Linked DNA regions of Homo sapiens: regions 2 and 3 are each linked to region 1. Evidence: promoter capture Hi-C in 16 types of primary human blood cells and fetal thymus (Javierre and others, 2016). All regions are on one chromosome and are shown on one strand. The core of a region is centred on a gene start or on the middle of the fragment in contact, and the rest is flanking DNA. Distances in the headings are between cores, read along the strand shown.

What was found. The method cuts DNA at HindIII sites, captures the fragments that hold promoters and counts their contacts. A CHiCAGO score of 5 or more calls a contact.
Region 2: a fragment that was not itself captured here is called in contact with the fragment with the promoter of PIP5K1B in region 1 in 6 of 17 cell types (erythroblasts, total B cells, naive B cells and 3 more); the score reaches 11.4 in erythroblasts.
Region 3: a contact is called between a fragment that was not itself captured here and the fragment with the promoter of PIP5K1B in region 1, in 5 of 17 cell types (total B cells, erythroblasts, megakaryocytes and 2 more). The highest score is 10.6, in total B cells.

The regions. Positions count from the first base shown.
Region 1 is chr9:68,703,494-68,707,543 of GRCh38, reverse strand. It overlaps PIP5K1B (phosphatidylinositol-4-phosphate 5-kinase type 1 beta), which reads right to left and starts at 2,304. Exons shown (of 16, transcript NM_003558.4): 1 at 1,782-2,304. RefSeq lists enhancers at 487-636, 1,087-1,176, 1,865-2,790 and a silencer at 1,927-2,446. The HindIII fragment of the contact is 6,803 bases long and covers 542-4,050 here.
Region 2 is chr9:68,854,068-68,858,117 of GRCh38, reverse strand. The region is part of intron 4 of PIP5K1B (phosphatidylinositol-4-phosphate 5-kinase type 1 beta); the gene reads right to left. Among named protein-coding and RNA genes, the nearest start is that of PABIR1, 76 kb to the right of the region's middle. The HindIII fragment of the contact is 1,975 bases long and covers 878-2,852 here.
Region 3 is chr9:68,836,117-68,840,166 of GRCh38, reverse strand. The region is part of intron 4 of PIP5K1B (phosphatidylinositol-4-phosphate 5-kinase type 1 beta); the gene reads right to left. Among named protein-coding and RNA genes, the nearest start is that of PABIR1, 58 kb to the right of the region's middle. The HindIII fragment of the contact is 1,506 bases long and covers 1,030-2,535 here.

The DNA.
Region 1 (4,050 bases), core at 1,055-3,554:
AACTCTGCCATTTAAAAAACCACCTTATATAAGTACAGAGCAGGCACCTGGTTATGACAGAAAACCTAACTGTGATTCTAATACCAGCACTTGTTACCTTGATAAATCTCTGAATCTGTGAGCCTCATGTTCCTTCTGTGTTTACATGGTAAAAAGTCTTTGCCCTGCCTCCCTCAGAAATGTTTGGAATTAGGTGAGAACACTCAAAAGAATTTACAAATTGCAAGACACTGATGCAAATGTAAGGTGTTATTATTAAATCTCTCTAGTCTTAACGTGGACAAAAATGTAATGTGGTTCTATCATTTAGTGCTTCACAGTTTTCCTTCTCAGGTAAGATGTCATCATACATCAGTCTCAAACTCACCAGCTTTCTCATCAGTCCTCATAAGTCTCTGCCCACAGGACCATATCAGAACCACCGTTTCCCTCCGCTCAGAGATCACACATGAAACTCACTCAACCTCCCACTGGTTTACACTTGGCCGATTAAGGTTTTTTCCCAGCGTCTCCTTTCAGCTGGGAATGCTCTAGCAAAGCTTCCATGAACACTACCCTACTTCATCACATTAGAGTCCTAATGAAACCCATCCTTACTTCATCACATTAGAGTCCTAATGAAACCAATCCTTTCGCCTTTCTCCACTCCAACAGCTGCAGAACGCTTCAGTCTCTTCGCAGAACAGGGGAGAAGTCTCTGGCTGAATGTGCTTCATTAGAGGGACAAAAGGGGTTCCCCAAACCGAGACTCAGAAGTACTGACACAGAGACCGCTTCTTCCTTGCACGAGATTAACACATTCTGAGGTCCTACCGGTCCCTTAAGGATCATTCCCCTTAAAGCTAGGGCCTCCTGCATCTGAGAATGTCACAGAGAGGTAGTGATGATAGTGGGTGTTATTTCTGATCTGTAACACGCTCCCTTTAAAAAAGCATCAGAGTAACTAGGATTGCCTTGTTCGGAGCCCTGATTTCAGTAGATTCGATGAAAGAATTAATCAATCTACCCAAATAACTTCTCCGGAATAGGTTTCTACTCAGCCACGCTGGGCACCAGACAAGAGAGCTGGGGGTTGGGGGGGATAAGAAATGACAACACGCTCATCTGCATAGATGCCAGATAAGCAGACATTTGTTTTCTTCTGTTCTGGCGACTCCTGGCACCGGCATAGTAAATCAAACCCGGGCATTCTCCCTCCCCAGTGCCCCTACACTCCCAGCCCCTGCCCCAGATGTTGAAGCGTCACGTTGACCAGGCTGGGGGAGAAAGCCTGGGAAACGCAGAAGTCTGTTGCTGCATTTAGACTGGAACCATACCGCACCTGTTCAATCCGGCACCAGCGCCAGAAATGAGCAGAACACCAACTCGCAAGCCCCTCTTGAGATACCAGGGCGCCTAACAAGTTCACCGCTGTTTCGTACCGGGGGAGGGTGGTGGGAGACCTTTCCTTCCGCTGCCAAACTCTGCAGGTTCCCCGGAAAAGGGGAGAGTACTCCTATTTAAGTGAACCCAGAGTGATCTCCGAGTGTCACTGCGGCCCCGGGGATCCGGGTGACGAGCGGGTGGGTGTCCGTTGGGAGCGCGCAGCTGTGGCCCCCGCGGAACGAAGGTCCGCTTCGGTGGCCACGGGCGCCCTCTCCACGTCACCCCCAGCACAACGCAGACAGGCAAAGTGGAAGGGTAGAGAGACCGACGGGTTTCAGCAGAGATGCAGAGCCCCTAAGCGCAAGCCCCTCAGAAGGGTCTAGTGGGAAGGGGCCGGGGACGCACAGGAAACTTACCTCACCCGGGCAGCATTCGGGTGCCTCCGCTACCAAGACCAGTTGCGCCACAGTCTGCAAGTTATCGGGACGTTGTCGCTTCCCCACAGCGAAGGGAGAGCAGTGCAGGCGAGGGGCGGGAGGGGCGGGAGGGGCGGGAGGGCGGAGGGGGCGGCGGGCGGGGCCGGGGCCGGGGGCAACGCTGAGGGCGGGCAGGTGCCGGGGCTGGAGCCGCGGGGCCAAACTCGCTCCGGACGCGCCTTGGCGGGGGCGCGCGGCTACGAGTGTGCAGTGCGCGCGCGCCGCGGCGAGTGTGTGTGTCCCCGCTTTCCCCTTCCTTCCCCGCCGGTCCTCCGGCCAGACGGAGCAGCGAGCGGCCGCCAAAGCCCAGCAGCTCCGAGCGGCTCCACTGCCGGGCGCAGCCTCGCCGCGGCGCGTTCGGGGACCGGGAACCGGGGACCGAGAGGAGCAGCAGCGGCGCCCGCCGGGCTCGGGCGCGGGTTCCCGCTTGGTGCGCGCCGGAGTCGGAGCGAGGCGCAGAGAGAGCCGGCTGCGCGGCGGCTGCCGCGGCTGGGGAGGCTGCAGGCCCCGCCTGCCGGCCGCCCAGGCTCTTCCCCTTTTCTCTCCACCCACTTGCCCCATCCCCGCAAGCCCTGCAGCGAAGGCAGACCGGTTTGCAGCACCTGCCGCAACAGCGGCCGGAGCTTCAGCCGCAGTGGGCTGGGCGTCTCAGCCGGTGTGTGGGGACCGGGCGCCTGTCCCGCCGCCGCTGGCCCAGACTGAGAGCGGGGTTGGGGTGGGCCCCTGGAATTGGCGGGTGCCTCCAAGACTCCAGGGGTTCCCGGCCGTTCTCAGCGTCTTGAAGCCCTGCGAAACAGGGCTGTGGGGATAGGGCGTCCCCTTTCCCCAGGCCACAGAACTCAGCTACGCCTGGTCGCCCGCCTGCTAGACTCTGCCTGAGGCGGCGAAGCCGGCACTTGAGCGCAGGCGCCCCCTTCACGAGGAAGGGACAGGCCAGGATTCCAAGGCGTTGGTTGCTCCCATTCTAAGGACAGCAGGTGTTCCCAGCAAGTAAGACCTACCCAACAGGTAGGGGTAGGCTGGCGAGGAGGTCCTAGGAGAGAGAAGCTGGGGGATGTCATGGGAAAGCGCTGTGACGGGGCTGAGGGCCAATTCCTACTGATAGCGCTTAGTGGGCTGGGGGCACTTGCAACGTCACCTGATGTCAGTCTAGCTGCGAAGAGGGTAGGGGTCAGATCTAAAGGACTCCTTTGGGAAAATGCTATCATGAAAGCTAAAGCTAAATTCACTTAATAGGAACCAAAAGGTAGCGGATCCTTCGCGGCTGAATTGAAGCAAATGGTATTTTTCAGCCTCATCACTTCCTTCCACTTACCCTTCTTTACCAAAAACAACGCCGGTGGAAAACGTGGGATACATTCTGTCTGGGGAATAACAACATTTCATGATCCTTATCTTCAGAGATCTCTGGCTTCCAGTTTCTGTTTGAAGGATACTCCCTTAGTTCTCTGCAAATGAACACCTCTTTTCAGTTTTGTAATCTCTTTGTTTCTCTCACCCCCCACCTTGAGTGAGTCTGCTATGGTTTAATATCAGCCTTGAATCAAGTGCAATAATTTCTTGATAACAGAAGTATCTATTTTTTTTTAGCTTTACTGAGCCATAATTGACAAATAAAACAAATATCTGTTATTCTTCAGCTGTTTTCCCAGCCTGCTTCTTGCAGATGTGGCTGGCCATTACTGAGAGATTTAAGGTATGGTTTGTTTAGAACCCTGTGACTTGGGTCTGGTTTTCTCCTGGCATCCTAGACGCTTCACAGCTCAGAGCAGGAGGAACATACATCTAGTCCAGCCCTCCCGCTTTACAGATGAGGAAACTAAGGTCTCAAGACATTAAGTAACCCAAGGACCAGAACACAGTTTCCCTGACTCTCAATCCCTGAACAATAACTAGCAGAAATATTGTATTAACAAAGTTCAAGATGGGGTGGATAGACCAGTGGTGGAGGACAGAAGAACCGATCAAAGAACCGTTCATCTGACTGGTACGAATCACTGTATAGGGGGCAGCATCATACCGCTGTAACTAGCAGGCTAGTTTGGAATCTGGGAATGGTAATCCCAGTCTCTCCTTTTCCTGCTTCTCAGACTTCAGCTATGAAATCCAGAGTGGAAAATGAATTTGCCTCCCAGGGAGGCGGTGGTAAGTGAAAGTGCAAAGTCAGTTTCTGGTAATGCAGGGGAGATGAAGACAGGTAAAGCCAAAC
Region 2 (4,050 bases), core at 616-3,115, 150 kb before region 1:
CCTGTAATCCCAGCTACTCAGGAGGCTGAGGCAGGAGAATTACTTGAACCCAGGAGGCAAAGGTTGTAGTGACCCAAGATGGCGCCACTGCACTCCAGCCTGGGCAAAAGAGCAAGACTCAGTCTTAACAACAACAACAACAACAACAACAACAACAAAACAGCAAGAGAGTAATTCTTATATGGGTGTATGGGAAGGGAGATGCTGACCAGCCTCCCCATTTATTTATTATTTCTCCTTCATTCCTCTTCGGTAACCACCCCGGTTCTACAACATATGCTGGAGTGCAGTGGTATGATCACAGCTCATTGTAACCTCAAACTCCTGGGCTCAAGCCATCCTCCCACCTCAGCCTCCCAAGTAGCTGTGACTTCAGGTGTATGCTACCATGCCTGGCTAATCTTTTCAATTTTTTGTTGGGATAGGGTCTCATTTTATGGCTCAGGTTGATCTCAAACTCCTGACCTCAAGAGATTCTCCTGCCTCAGCCTCCCAAAATGTTGAGATTACAGGCGTGAGCCGCCACACCTGGTCCACGTTCCTTCATTTCTACAGCTCAAACCCAGCTCCAGGTTCTCCCTCCTCTCCGTGAACCTATACTCAAGAAACAAGTCATAGTCCACTTATTTGTCCCACTGAGAGAATTAAGGAGAAAGAAACAGGGATAGATTCCCACTGAGAGAACTAAGGAAAAAGAGAGAGAGATTGCATGAAACTGGTTGTAGGACTATGGAAATTATACAGTTTGTGGGTAGGCAAACCTCCTCCTCTCTGAGAGGAAGTGGGACCACCTCTTGCTTCTGGGTTCTTCAAATCATTTCTCAAGTTCTTCCTTGTATTAGTTTTCTGTTGCTTCTATAATAAATTACTACAAGCTTAGTGGCTTAAAAAAATGCAAACTTATTATCTTACAGTTCTGGAGGTCAGAAGTCCTAAAATCAGGGTTTTGACAAGGCTGCGTTCCTTCAGAGACTCTGGTGGGGAATCAGTTCCTAGAGTCCACCCGCATTCCTTGTGGCCTCTTCCTCCATCTTCAAAGCCAGCAGAATTGTTAAATCTCTGTCTCCCTCTGACCTCTGCTTCTCTCATCACATCTTCTGTGACTCTGATCTTCTCACTTCGCTTTATATGGACCCATCTGGATAATCTAAGATAATCTCCCTATCTCAAAATCTTTAACTTAATCACACCTGCCAAGTGTGTGAAGTTATTGGCAATGTCTTCTTAATAGGTTCCAGGGATTAGGACATAGATCTCTTTGGGGTCCCATTATTCTGTGGATCACACTCCTCTACTTCAGGATTGACCCTGGCATTTTTTCCCGTGTTGCCCCCAGCAGAGAGAAGAGGTTCCCTCAGAACCCCATTCAGTCAGAGGCTGTTCATTCTGCCAGCAAAGATCTGAGCACTTAGTATGAGCCAGGCATTATTTTAGGCATTGTGCGAAGCATAAGCCGAAAAAGAGACGTGGTTCTTGCTCTCATGGGAGTTTCTAGTCTAGTGGGGGAAAGAGACATTAAACAGACAAAGATACACATGCATAAAGACAAATGAAGTCAGTGACAGAAAGAACAGCGTGAAATAATTGAGGTCAGAAGGGCGGAGACCCACTCAAGAATGATGGAGTCTCAGAGGTCTCTCTGAGGAATGATCTGTAGGCTGAGACCTGAAAAGTGAGAATGGGCCAGTCAACAAGTCGTGTCAACAAAGACTGGCTGTGTCCTTTGTACAAACTGGGGACATAAAGGTGACCTGAACAGAGTCTTGCCCTTAAGGAATTGACATTTTGGATTACTATGTGTGGTGAGGAAAGACAAAGCACATTAGGAAATTAGGGGAGTTGATTTCCAGGGATAGAGAAGCAGTAAGGTTCGGGGACCTGAAAGCAAATCATATGAGTTCATTAGTCGGGTAACAGGGAAAGTGCCAGAACTGGAGGCTGGAAAGACTGGACAGACTGAGATCTGGGTCTTATAGGCCATCCTAATGGTTTGATGTGTTTCAATGAGGGAACAGCATTCTTATTTGAAAAGGTTCACTCTGGCTGCTACTTAGCGTAGCAGGAATTGATTCCCTGCTAGAGCCTCTGAAGGAACGCAGCCTTGTCAACACCTTGATTTTAGAACTTTTGACCTCCAGAACTATAAGATAATAAGTTTGCATTGATTTAAGCCACTGAGCTTGTAGTAATTTGTTATAGAAGCAATAGAAAATTAATACAGGAAAGAACTTGAGAAATGATTTGAAGAACTCAGAAGCAAGAGGTTGTCCCACTTCCTCTCAGAGAGGAGGAGGTTTGCCTACCCACAAACTGTATCATTTCCATAGTCCTACAACCAGTTTCATTGGAGGGATTATAGGCAGGAAAGTGATTGGGGGCAGTTGTAGTGGTTCATATAGAGATACTGATGGCTTAGAGAAGGGTGATGAACGAGAGGATGGGCAGAGGAGGTGGATTTGAGATATATTGGAGGGAGGGAGACAGAATTTGCTGCAAACTAGAAATAAGGGACAGAAAAGTACCAGCAATGCCTCCTGGCATTTTCCTTCAGCAGTTGAGAGGACTGAAGTCACTTTACCAAGCTGAGGAAACTGAAGATGGTACCTATTTTGGAGCAGAGATTCAGAGTTCCATTTGAGATGCTAATGAGACATCCAACTGGAGATGCTAACATACAAGTCTGGAGCTTGGGATAGAGGTTAGAGAGAATATTTCATTTTGAGAGTTGTTAGCATATAAATGATATTGAAAACCAAGGGGTTGAATGAGAAAACCAAGAGAGAGAGGGGAGTATCCAAGGAGAGTCCTAAACCACAACAACATTTAGAAAATAGATGGAAGGAGGAAAAGCTTTGGAGGAGACGTAGGAGTGACTAACACAGTAGAAGAAAATCAGGGAAATATGGCTTCACTGAAACCAAGAAAAGAGAGTTTGAAGAAAGGGGTGACAACCGTCTCCACAAGTAGCTCTTTCATCTGATAATATAAATACTACAACTTGATGGAATATCTAAAGCTATGAGTCAAATTCTCTATATTTTTCTCATTCATATTGTTAATTCATATATAAACCTAAATCTGGATCTAGCATATTTGACAAAATTATTTGATGGACTCGTCAAATTATGCCATCACTTAAATCATATTTTAGAAGTGATCCTTAACTTAGAAAAATAAGATACTATGTTAAGTTTAAAAAGCAGGACACAATACAGATCATAAAATTTAAACAAGAAAAACCAAGTACACGTGTACATATCCACGGAGGAAAATAAGACAGGAAGGAAATATACCAAAATGTACAATTATTTCTGGATAGCGGGATATTAGGTGATTTTTGCTTTCAAGTTTTGTACTTCCCAAGTTTTCTAAATTTTATGTTTTATATATTGGGATGGAAATGTCCTCCAATGAAGGTATTGCTACTATGTTTTAAAATACATTTTGAGGCATGACAAAGGCATGTTTAGGAGTTGCTCATCTTTTTAGCTTTTTCTTTTAGGTCAAGGCCTTAATGCAACAAACCTATGTAATGATTGTGCTTTTATAAAATGTAATCATAACAAGTTTATTTTTGTCTCCCACTGTTCCTCTAAATGTATTCTGGGGTTAGATTTTTCTTCTGCCCCAGCATGAAATATACGGCAGGTCTATGACCCTTCTGGTGGCTTCTGGAATAAAAGGTCCTGTCCAGGTATGGTGGCTTGCACCTGTAATTCCAGCATTTTGAGAGGCCAGGGCAGGAGGATCACCTGGGCCTAGGAGTATGAGATCAGCCTGGGCCGCATAGTAAGACCTTTTCTCTACAAAAAATCAAAAAATTGGTCAGGCATGGTGGCGGCACCTGTAGTCCCAGTTACTCAGGAGGCTGAGGCAGGAGGATTGCTTGAGCCTAGGAGGTAAAGGTTGTAGCGAGCTGTGATTGTGCCACTGCATTTCAGCTTGGATGACAGAATGAAACCCTGTCTCAAAAAAAAAAAAAAAAAAAAAGTTTTCTGTTTATTCCCAGTCATAGATCTGTAAAAATGGTCTCATCTAGACATCTGGTAT
Region 3 (4,050 bases), core at 533-3,032, 130 kb before region 1:
GACCTCAGGTGATCTGCCCGCCTTGGCCTCCCAACGTGCTGGGATTACAGGCATGTGCCACTGTGCCGGGCCGTGAAATACTTTCAATACTTTTAGGTCCTGTTTACTTGAGGCACCCGAACATTTTCACTCTTTATCCCACTAGCCCCAAGAGTTGATGCTAATTGGCACTGGGTTGAAATGAAGGAGACTGGCTTGCATCTGTGTGGTCCCAGAAAGTGGTCCTAGAGGACAATTTGTTGAATAAATGAATGGGTGATGAGTTTATAACAAGGAAGAGTACACACTTGGCCATCTGGGTAGAAAATGGTCTTGTCATGACCTCTCTGGAATGGAGACGACCATGGCTGGACCTAACAGGAATACAGCACCCTGGCATTTCTCCTCCTCTTTCTGCAAGACGTCTCCATCTCAGGCTCTGGTTACATCAGGGCTCCCCTAGGCTTGAAGGGCCGGTGGGATGGCAGCACAGTGTCATGTTTTATACACATTCAAGTTAATTTTCCTAAATTCAAACTCTCATGACAGATTTTGATAATTTTCTGTTGTATTCACTTTGCCAAGAACATAGAAAAGGGGGAGAAAATCTCTACTTTTTCCCACAGAGGATTAATCTTCCTAAACCTATAGAGTCATTTGAGTTCCTAATCCACAGGGTGTTTAAGGGAGGGTGGGAAAATATGCAAGATATTATTGCCTTTGCACCAAAGGGAAACCAACTCAGGTTTTCTCGAAAGGAGATGTAACCTTCTCCCCACTCTTTACCTTCTTCTCTTTCCCCGTCCCAAGGCATCCTGCCTGGCCTTCATAAAATGACTGCTGCAAGAGATGATCACAGAATAAAACAAACAAAACCACCACCACCAAGAAATCAAGAGACTTCAATGGCATTTAGCAGTCAACCACACCCCAAATTTTGCAAATGAAGAAGCATAGGCCCAAATATAACATGAAATTACATTAAAATTCTCAATAAAAGGAAAACAGAGATGAAAAAGCACAGACTTTCAGGCAAAAGAAACACAAGCTTTTTCCCCTCTGCCAAAACCAAAATTTCTCAATGATTTCAACAAACTGCCCACCCCAAAATAACTTGCAAAAAGCACTAACTCTTAAGATAATTTCCACACATTACTCTGGTATGGGGAAGTGATCAGTAGACCCATAGGAAGAAATTTTAAGACATTCTCCAAACTATAAGGAAATAAAATGATCCCATTCATCTAAACTGATATAAAATCTGAATTAAATAATATTTTAAGAGAAACATGATTTTATTATTTGCTAGTACTTGGAGTATCTCAAAAAGCTAACTGTGTTTACAATAATTGCCTTTCCATGGTCAGCTTAAATTATATGAAAAAGCCAATATTCAATAAAGATTTTAGTTAATTAATTAAAAAATTTATTTCAAGTTTTATTTTAGATTCAGGGGTACAAGTGCAGGTTTGTTACCAGGTATAATGTGCGATGCTGAGGTTTGGGGTGCAATCAATCCTGTCACCCCATTACTGAGTACAGTATTCAATAGTTTTTTCAACCCTTGCTCCCCTCCCTTCCTCTCCCTTCAATTATGATTTTTAAAAAAGTTTTAGTAAAATTGGAGGCAGAAAAAAACTTTCTTAATGCAGAAAATAATGTTTCAAGCTAAAAGACAACAGTATACTAATGGAAGCACTAGAGTGACACTTCCCAAATGTACGTGACCAAGGGATTTTTATTTATGTATCTATTAATAACTTGTGTGTACAAAGAATGCACTCTTGGAAACAGTACAAGAGGCATTTGTTTTTTAAAACACAAGTAAGACAAGGCTGTGCTGTTATCACAAGAATTCTTTGATACTGTTTTTGAATATCAAATTAATAAGACAAGCCAATTACAAAATATTGGTTAGAAGGAGAAAAATGATAATTTACACATTATATGATTGCTACCTAGAATACCCAAGAATCAGTCATGAACCGAGTAGAATAGTTAAAAAAAAAACAGGTTGTCAGTTTACAAAATAAACTCACATAAATCAAGATCTAACGTATCCCCAGTCAGAAAATGTAATGGAAAAAAAAATCCCATGCGCAAAAGAAAAAAAAAACCTCAAAACATTAATAACAAAAAACCCCACATAAGTTACACAGACATATATTCAACTAAAAATAGGTATAAAATCTATGAAGAAAATAAAAGTTTACTGAGGAGCATAAAAGACAATAAATACATAAACATTTCATTCTTGGAAGGAAAAATACAAGTTTAAAGATGCTTCTTTCTGAATTCATTAATTTAATATAATTTCAACAAAAATCACAATAGAAATTTTTTTAGAGATAGTGACCTTATAATTCTAAAGTTCAATTAGAGGGAAAAAATGTAAAAACATCACTAAGAAATTTTTGAAAATTAAGAATACCATGGGAAGTCTTGCATTACAAATTATTAAAATTAAAGCAAGGCATTACTAGCACAAAATTACAAAATAAGAGCAAAGATAAAAGCCTTAAGGGAACTATTAACAAATTTGACTATATAAAAGCTTGGGTCAAAAAAAAAAAAAAAAAACACAAAGTAAGGAAAAGTAAAAGTCTAATTTAAGAATGGAAAAGCATCTGCAACAAAAATGCAAGGCCCTAAATATATTAGTGCTTACAAATCAGACAGCAAAGGGTATTCATAAATAATAATACACATAAATCAATAAAAATCATCTGAAAAAGTCTAACTTACAATAATAATGCAAATTAAAGTGAAAACTAAGGCATTTTCACCTATCTAGCTGTTAAAACATTTTTAAAGGAGCAGTGCTTAGTACTCTTGAGGACTCGGAAAAACAGGGCTCCCCTAATTAGCGGGGGGACGTCTAAGATGGGATAACCATTTTTAAAGGTAATTTAGTAAAGTGCTAAAATGCACAGAACCCCTTAACTTGGTTTCCTGAGGTCATGGGCCAAGTTCCTTGTGTTCACTGCTGTATCCCTGCCTAACACAAACAGGTGCCCAGATTTATCTACTGAGGGAGAACATGTGGGGAGACAGGCATTCTGAGGCTGGAAAGCTGGAAACAAAGATACTGTTCCAGGCCATCTGGGTGCTGAACGCTTTCCGGCCCAAGTGACCTCGCTAAGGCTGAATTTGGGTCAATAAGCAGGAAGGGCATGGATGTCTGTAACATTTCCTATTCCAGGAGTAGACTGTGGGTTTAAATTCCTCTCTCATGGAAATGGAAGCCTGAGGGGAAAGGGCTTCGGCCTGGTGCCCCAGATTTGACCAGACTCTGCTTTGTATACCAGCCACTGTGTGTCCCCACTAGGGACTCTGAGGGCCAAGGGATGCCTGAGACATGCTGCATCTGCTCGGCATGGCCACCTGGCTTCTGGTAAGACAGCCTTCCCTTGACCAGGTAAATCAGGAGCTTTATCATAAAGTGTAGTTTCTTCCCACCCATCTATTAACTCATCTGAAGCAATTCAGGACCCTCATAATAAAAAAAAACAAAAAAAATGCACACTTAAAAATAAGCTATACATATGTGTGTGTGTGTGTAGATGTATGTGTGTACATATCCCATATGCTAAAAACAAAATTTCTCCAAAAAATGAATAAAAAGCATAGAGATAAACATCAATGCAGCTTGAGTTGGCATACCCCAAATTCCAAAGGAAATGGAAACGTTTGATGTTTTTATTACATTGAATACTTCCTTGGAAAACAGGGTCTTGTTTTGTTTTTTATGAAGCAGAATCTCAGAAGACTCCATCCTTTGATTTTGTTCTCAAATGAAACTTTACCGCTTTAAATCTCTTTTGTATTTACAACTTTAAAACCCCTCTAATTTGTAATCTTAAAGTTATATCCAAATCAAATATTCCAAAGAACACTGGGTTGGGGGTCAGGAATGGGAGAACAGACTTGTCTCCAAGATTAGAATAATTAATAAATAAGTTAAAAATAAAGAAATAACCTGGGGCGAGGGACTATGCTGATTGTGCAGCTTAGTTTGTTCATGATTTTCTTTAAAACCCATGAACGGGTTTTAGATGTTGTCTGCCCACT